2 separate regions of the Homo sapiens genome follow, and region 1 is linked to region 2. Evidence: promoter capture Hi-C in human tissues and cell types (Jung and others, 2019). All regions are on one chromosome and are shown on one strand. The core of a region is centred on a gene start or on the middle of the fragment in contact, and the rest is flanking DNA. Distances in the headings are between cores, read along the strand shown. Region 1 overlaps NEPRO-AS1 (NEPRO antisense RNA 1). Region 2 holds the start of BOC (BOC cell adhesion associated, oncogene regulated).

Region 1 (3,693 bases), core at 646-3,145, 150 kb after region 2:
GGAAAAGCTTTCATTAAAATCAAACATTTCTTCATGATAGAAAACCTTCAAGAAACTAGGCATTGAGGGAACATACTTCAAAATAGTAAGAGCTATCTATGATAAACCCACAGCCAACATCATACTGAATGGACAAAAGCTGGAAGCATTCCTCTTGAGAACAGAAAAAAGACAAGGATGCCCACTGTCACTACTCCTATTCAACATAGTACTGGAAGTGCTAGCCAGAGCCATCAGACAAGAGAAAGAAATAAAAGGTATCCCAACAGGTAAGGAAGTCAAACTATCTCTCTTTGAGGATGATACAATTCCATACCTAGAAAACCCCCCAAAGACTCTGTGAAAAGGCTCCTGGAACTGATAAACAACTTCAGTAATGTTTCAGGATGGAAAATAAATGTACACACATCAGTAATATTTATATACACCAATAACATTCAAGCTGATACACAAGTCTTTCTAAGTCTATCATCTGCAGCCTTAGGCACGGTCTATGTATGTTTACGGCAGTGGTGTGTTGCTAAGCTGGCTCCCTGAAAACAAAGTCCTGATGTGCAGCATTTGTCCATGATCATGGTGTAAATATTCTTTCGTGGCTAATTTCAAGCTAACAATGGTTTAGCAATCTGCTCAAGAATTTCCTGAATATTTGACAATATGTTCCCACAAGTGAGTCTTAGCCAATTACAGCACACCACAGACCTGGCATAAAACTAGAAGGAACCAGACCTTCTAGTTCTTCTATCAGTCTGTGGTGTCAACACAATGCCCTGCACATAGTAAGAACACAAGTGAAGCCCAGATTGACTGAATTTCTTTTTTTTTTTTTTGAGACGAAGTTTCGCTCTTTGCTCTTGTTGCCCAGGCTGGAGCACAAAGGCGCCATCTTGGCTCACTGCAACCTCCGCCTGCCGGGTTCAAGCAATTCTCCTGCCTCATCCTCCTGAGTAGCTGGGATTATAGGCGCCCGCCACCATGCCCAGCTGATTTTTGTATGTTTAGTAGTGATGGGTTTTCAGCATGTTGACCAGGCTGGTCTTGAACTTCTGACCTCAGGTCATCTACCCACCTCGGCCTCCCAAAGTGCTGGGATTACAGGTTTGAGCCACTGCGCCCGGCCTGACTGAATTTCTTTATGTCTTGACTAGAACGATCTTCCTGACCGTCATAATTTTTCTTATGGAATGTGATTATGATAATTTCCCAGCCTAGTCTTAGCTCCAGGCTCTAATTTATTCTATTTATTGTGGTATTATTTTCAGGTTACAAGTTGGTCTGGTTTTTTAAATTTCTGTTCCTTTCTTATTCTGATACTTTTATTTTTAATGCAGAAACACATACCCATGAAAACATAGTAACCTCCATGCTTCCCTGTTTCTATCTTACAAGAGAGTAAGTGCTCCCAGTGCTAAACTTTAAGCAGTGTGAACTCCAACCACTTCACATGAGTATTTTTTTTTTTTTTTTTTTGTGATCCATGTCAGTCCATGATTTGCTCAGGGGTTCCTTCTTGAAATGCCATGCATGATGGTATCTGGGAACTGATTATCATGTCAGAGGAAGATTTTGGAGACCAACCTGCTATTACTGGCAAACCAGATATTGACTATATCTTTTGTGGACCTTTTTCACTTTAATAAGTTAAAGAGCCTCCATCTGTTGGGCTCTGTCTCCTTTTAGCTCTTCTCTTATTTGACTTTTGCCCTGAGTTTGTTGTGTAGGTTCACTTTGCAGGGCTGTGCCAATTGTGGCTTTGGGACGAAGTGTTCCTTTTCCAGACAGAGATGTTTCATCTGGAGCCAGCCTTGACTTTTCTTTCTGCTATAATGTAAACATGAAAATATGAAAATGAACAGCACAAATAAGGTTTTATGGCTTTTTCCAGTAACATAAGGAGCCAAGAAAGGCAATAACAGAATTCAATCATTCATTCTCCTTTCCTATTAACTTGATTTTAATTTATCTTCCAGAATAAATATTTGACAAATTTCTTCATTAGTGTGGAGCTGAAGAAAATGCAGTATCTTTGGCTCAGGCGGGTTAATACTGCTCGACTTTGGCAGTTCTGGCCTGTGGAGTTTAGTGCTGGATTTGTGATTCCTACCAGGCCATATTGCAAAGACTAGATAAAGAAGGCAGTGAGGTTGTTGACTGGGGGTCCAAGGCTCAGGCAGCCAAAAGCAGACATGAGAGGTCAAGGCTGAGGTACTGGTAGAGACGAGCTCAAGACAAAACTGTGTGTCCACTGGTTATACTCCTTACCAGGAGTGCAATTCTTTCTTCAAAGTGGAAAAATACAAGAAGACCTCTAGAAATGGAGTGAAGCTTTCAAAAAATTCAAAGCAGGCACGTTCTTCATAGAGTTCAGGAGTCAAAACAGGTTGACTGCAAGTTAGATTAGGGAGCAGTGACTCACATGCACATTCCAGACAGGGTGCATGAGATAATTTTGAGAGGGCACAGGCAGGGACAGCCTGAAGCAAAATCATGTACTTTCCCATGGCATGCCCTACTTCTGCTATTCTACCAACGGTTATGGACTGAATGTTTGTGTCCTTCCCCACATTCATATGTTGAAATCTTAATCCCCAATGTGATGGTATGAGAAGGTTGGGCCTTTGGGAGGTAATTAGGTCATGAGTGTGGAGCCTTTATCAATAAGATTAGTGCCCTTATAGAAAGAGACCCAAGAGCTTGCTGTCTCTTTCTGTTCTCTGTCATGTGAGGATGTCATGAGAAGATGTTCATCTGCAAGCCAGGAAGCAGGCCCTCCCCAGACACTGGACCTGCTGGCACCTTGATCTTGGACTTCCCAGCTTCTAGTACTATGAGAAATAAATGTGTATTGTTTGAGTCACCCACTCTTCGGTAATGTGTTGCAGCAGCCTGAACTGACTAAGACACCATCTTGTTTCTGAAGTCTTATGACTCCCTACCACTTCCAGGGACCTGCCAACTCCACTCATAATCGTGAAACACTGAATCCTTACCAAAAAAGGAATGCTTCCAGGAAAATGTCATATGGTGTGTTTGATAATTTGGGACTCAGGCTTAGATGTAAGTATTGTATGCCTATTACTTACATGGTCCAAGTGATGTACATAAGTCTGCCTACATACTTAGAATCACTTGGATTCTAAGTATGTAGTAAAAATACTAATGCTTTCTTTTCTCTTCTCATCTTCATCTAAGGGATCAGGACAGTGAGGGAGGAGGGGGTGCTGTGGTGATGACTTGGCAAGAGGCAGTCTGATTGCTGAGGAAGACAGTGGGGGAAGATGCAGAGGTGGCAAGTGAGAGAGGCAGTTGGAAGGCTGGGGACTGGTTATATTCAGCAAATAAGTTAGTTCACTGAGAAAATATGTGAATAAATTGAGTATAGTCAGATCCATGTTTCTTATCATCTGGTACAAGAGTTATAATCATGGAAATAGGAAATCTAGGGAGATCCTCAGATGTTGGATTGAAATTGGAAGTATTGGTAGAAACTTATGAATTTTCAAATATATATAGATATAGAAACAATTATAGAAACATGTAGCAATATACACACCAAGTTCCCAGATCTTGGCTTTTAAATATCCCCTCCACAAAAAGAAGCCAAGCTCCTGGAGGAATGGCTGATTATAGGGCTAGGGCAAGGAAAGAAAAAAATGAGCCTGAATTATCTTGTGACAGAAAATAAAGAAGTGC
Region 2 (3,849 bases), core at 1,346-3,845:
TCCCCACACCCTCCCTCTCCAGTTGTAGTCAAAGAATCAACCATTCTGGCTTCTAGCAACCTCTTTTCCCAAGTAAAGCCAGTGGCCTATGGCGTGGGGGACAACTGCTCCCTAGCGAATGTCTCTTGCAGTGAAGCATTTCTGAAGTATCTCGATAGAGGATAAAAGAGACAGTGTCTGAGGTCTCAATCCTCAGGCTTCATAAATGTGTAGACACCCTCCAGCCTCCTCAAGGCCCAAATTCTGAGTGACAAATCTATACAGGGGAGGACAGTGTCAGCAAAGTGGCCCAATGAGGCAACTCTTCTTTCTTTCATTTTACCTCTTTGCATAAACTCATTTGAAAAACTCATAGCAGGAAAATAATAACTCTACTGCTGTTTCTGCCCGGCCTCTGTCCCACTGACCCCAAGGTGCTTTCAGATCACCACGAGAAGCTTCTGGGTCTCAATTATGAGACCATTAAAAAGTACCAATTATAAGACCTCAGAAATGTTTCTGGGAAACCTGTTACACACCTCAAAATGGCTAACCTCTTGCCTCAGATTTACTTTAAGTTCAGAAAACAGGTCACCCAGATGTATGGGCATCCTAGCCCCCACAAGCAGCCCAAGACTGTGGTTTAATATTTTCCATGCTGCCCTTAAGAAAACGAAGATTGATTTATTGGCTGTAACCAAAGGGATGAAAAAAACCATCACAGAGCTGGGCTGCCTGTTTAAGACCCAGTCGTGGAATAAATCAGAAATGTCTGCACACTGAAGTTTTAAAATGACATTCATCCAATGGTCAATGTGTACCGAGTTCTGGACAACAAAGAACTAGGTGACAAATGTGTGCTGGGCACAGTGCATCTGCAGGTGGCACAAGGGCCTGAAATCAAAATATAATCTTCACTCAGTCCACTCAAAGAGGTAACTCTGGGTCAAAAACTTAGGCGAACCCATTTGAACTTGCAGAGAAGGGATGAGGGGAGCAGCAGAACACCCCACCACACCCAAAAAGTGCCAGTTTGGGATTGCTGGTGTGTGGTTTCGGTATTCTTAGCTCTACTGCCACATCTCTGGAGGAGCACAACTCTGTTCCAAGCAACTCTGGCACTGCCACCCCCATCCCCAAAACAAAACTCTGCCAAACAAATCCCCGAGGCTCCATTAACTCCTTCAGGTCTGCCTGCCTCTCTCATCCCTCAGCATTCTCCCATCACCTGGAAAAGCAAATTAATACTGAACATCCTGAAAGTCAAGCAGGCCCTTCAACACCCCCATGAAAATTCTTCCTGGGTTCCCTGCCCTCCCCACAGCCCCGTCCCACTGGTTCCAGAGATTCATTTCCCACACCTTCTCACAGTTACATCAACAAAAACCCCAGGAGGACGCTGCTGGCGCGAACACGCACACACGCGCGCGCACACACGTACACGCACACACGAACTCTCTCTCTCACACACACACACACCTCTTTCACCTTTGCCCCAGCCCCTCAGACACCTCGGGCCACTCGGCTTCAGCCTCGCCCCTCTGCGCCAACAGCTAGGGATGCTTCCCTCAAGCTGCGTCGCTCCCGGTCCGCTGAGTTCCTCATTTTAGTGTTTTTCCTTTAGAAGACGCCAACTATGAGAAACCCTCACCCTCCAAAGAGGCCGAGTGCGTGTTGAGTGACTCTACGCATTTGCCGCCACGCCTCGGGTTCCCCCCACGGCCTGGAGCATGGGGCCGGGGCGCTGGTGTCAACCTTCGGTGGAAGTTTGGGAGGCTGGCTGGATCCTTCTTCCACCCGAGAAGCTTCTGGGAACCGCTGAGGCGAAACCACCATCGCCCGGCCAGACCGCTGCGGCAGGGAACGAGATGCGGCGCCCCTGGGCCCCGTAGCGGCTGCAGCCCCCGGGACCCCCGCTGCCCGCCTCGCCCCAACTTCTTCGCCCGGCGCCCGGCGCGCCCAGCCTCGGCCGCAGCTCCCAGCCCCGGGCGCCCGGCCGAGCGCTGGGACCCGGCTCCCGCCGCCGGCACGTCCCCCGGCAGCCACTCGCTGGCGCTGCCTCGGCCTGCGGCCGCCTCCCGCCCCCTCCTCTCCCCGAACCAACAGTAAACACAACTTTTTATGAAAAGAAAACAAACTTCAGCGACGTGACTCACCTCTGCTGCAGCCGGCGCCTGGGAAGGGCGAGCCGGGGCCCGGGGGCCAGCGTGGTGGGCGCGAGGGAGCCACACAGCGCCGCGCCGCACGGACACACAACACGCTCGGTGACACCGGGGACACACAACACGGGCGAGCGGCCGCGGCTGGAGCAACAAAGGAGCCGAGGACCGAGAAGTTGCGGGCCGGAGAGGGAGGGCGCGTGCGGGCGTGTTGTGGCTGTGGCGGGCGTGAGGGTGTGCGCGCCGTGTGTGCGCGTGTGTGTCTTTTCTGTGTGTGTTTGTGTGTCTCTGTGTGTGTGTCTGTGCGCGCGCGCGGCGGCTGACACCGGCGGGCCGGGGCTCAGGGTCCCCGCGGCAGAAAGCGGCGGCCGCGGGGGCGGCAGCAGGAGGACAACGCAGGGGACGCCGCGCCCAGCGCACCCGGTCCCTCCATATGGAAGAAGCTTTTTGGATGACTGAACTCGCAAACAATTCCTTCTTTTGCTTCTCCTGCCTAGGAGCCTCCCATTACCGTGCGAGGAGGAGGAGGAGGAGGGAGTGGAGGAGGCTGGGAGGAGGGGGAGGAGCAAAATGGAGCAAAGAAAAAGTCTTGGAAAGGAAGCTGGAAAAAGTCCCCCAAACTCTAGGGCAGTTTTCCCGTTAACACCCACTTTTTGCTGTGCCTCAGACCCGCGCTCTCCTCCAACTTCTTTTGCTTTCCCATACCAAAAGCACCATCTTCTCCCTTTTCCCCGAACCCAGGGGGCTCCCCTGAAGCCTTCACTTTCTCTTTAGCTTCACCTCGCACCCTTGCTCTTCCATGTACAATCCTTCCCTCCTTTCGCCTAGTCTCTTCCAAGACTTTCCTGACACCCACCTCTCAATGGTCTTCTTCTTCTGCAAGACAAACTGTTGGATAAATCATTAAAAGCAAACTCATCAGAAAATGGGACAGCGGCGGTGGAGAAAATGATAAGGAAACCAATCTCAGGGAAGCCTTAACGCAGCCTCCCCCGACCCCCTCGGTCGGTTGGGGAGGGTTTGCCGCGTCGTCCATTGACAGCGCCCTGACCTCCATTCATCATCCCAGGATGGAGCCAGGGAGGAATGGGGAGGGAGAGCTGGGGCTGGGGTTGGGGGCATGGGTTGGGGGTGCTAGTGGCCACGGAAAAGTTAGTTACCTATGCGTGTGTATGTGTACGCGCACGCGCGCGTGTGTGTTGGTCAGAAAACTTTCAGAGCTGTGGTTCTCAAACTTGATCTGCAGCAGGACTCCCTGGAAGGCTTGCTAAATCCCTTTGCTGGGCCCCACCTCCAGAGTTTCTGATTCAGTAGGTGGACCTGGGAATTTGCATTTCAAATAGGTTCCCAGGTGATGCTGATGCTGCAGGTCAGGGGCCACGTTTTAAAAACTACCTTTCCAGGGCAGTGAGAAGGCAAATGTTGAGTTGGTGGCAAATTGGATTCCCTTCTTATTTTTTAGGAATGAAGCACAGGTTGTGAGCGGTCATCCATTCCGTATCTTCATTGCAGCTGAGAAAACCAAGTCCCAGCAGGGCTAAGCCATTTGTTTAAAGTGAACTGGGAGTTTGTGCCAAGCTGGTGAGGAAGCTGTCCTGGAAATAAGACAGCCAGGCTAGTAGTAGGGTGAATGGGGGTGCTGCCTTCCCTGTGTGGCTGGACAGCTGCACTGGGAGTCAGGAAGCCACTGTGACTTTGGAAAGTCACTTAA

Evidence for each region. Contacts are between HindIII fragments. The study calls those that stand out against the background at their distance.
Region 1: a fragment that was not itself captured here is called in contact with the fragment with the promoter of BOC in region 2 in 1 of the 25 tissues and cell types used here (mesenchymal stem cells).

Annotation. Positions count from the first base shown.
Region 1 is chr3:113,062,471-113,066,163 of GRCh38, reverse strand. The region is part of intron 1 of NEPRO-AS1 (NEPRO antisense RNA 1); the gene reads right to left. The region is part of intron 1 of LOLI1 (lncRNA oncogene in liver cancer 1); the gene reads left to right. Among named protein-coding and RNA genes, the nearest start is that of LOLI1, 40 kb to the left of the region's middle. The HindIII fragment of the contact is 4,184 bases long and covers 1-3,693 here.
Region 2 is chr3:113,210,303-113,214,151 of GRCh38, reverse strand. It overlaps BOC (BOC cell adhesion associated, oncogene regulated), which reads right to left and starts at 2,595. Exons shown (of 20, transcript NM_001378074.1): 1 at 2,136-2,595. It overlaps LOC124909486, which reads left to right. Exons shown (of 2, transcript XM_047449436.1): 2 at 1,872-3,849. The coding sequence ends at 2,597. RefSeq lists an enhancer at 1,583-2,234. The HindIII fragment of the contact is 6,739 bases long and covers 2,184-3,849 here.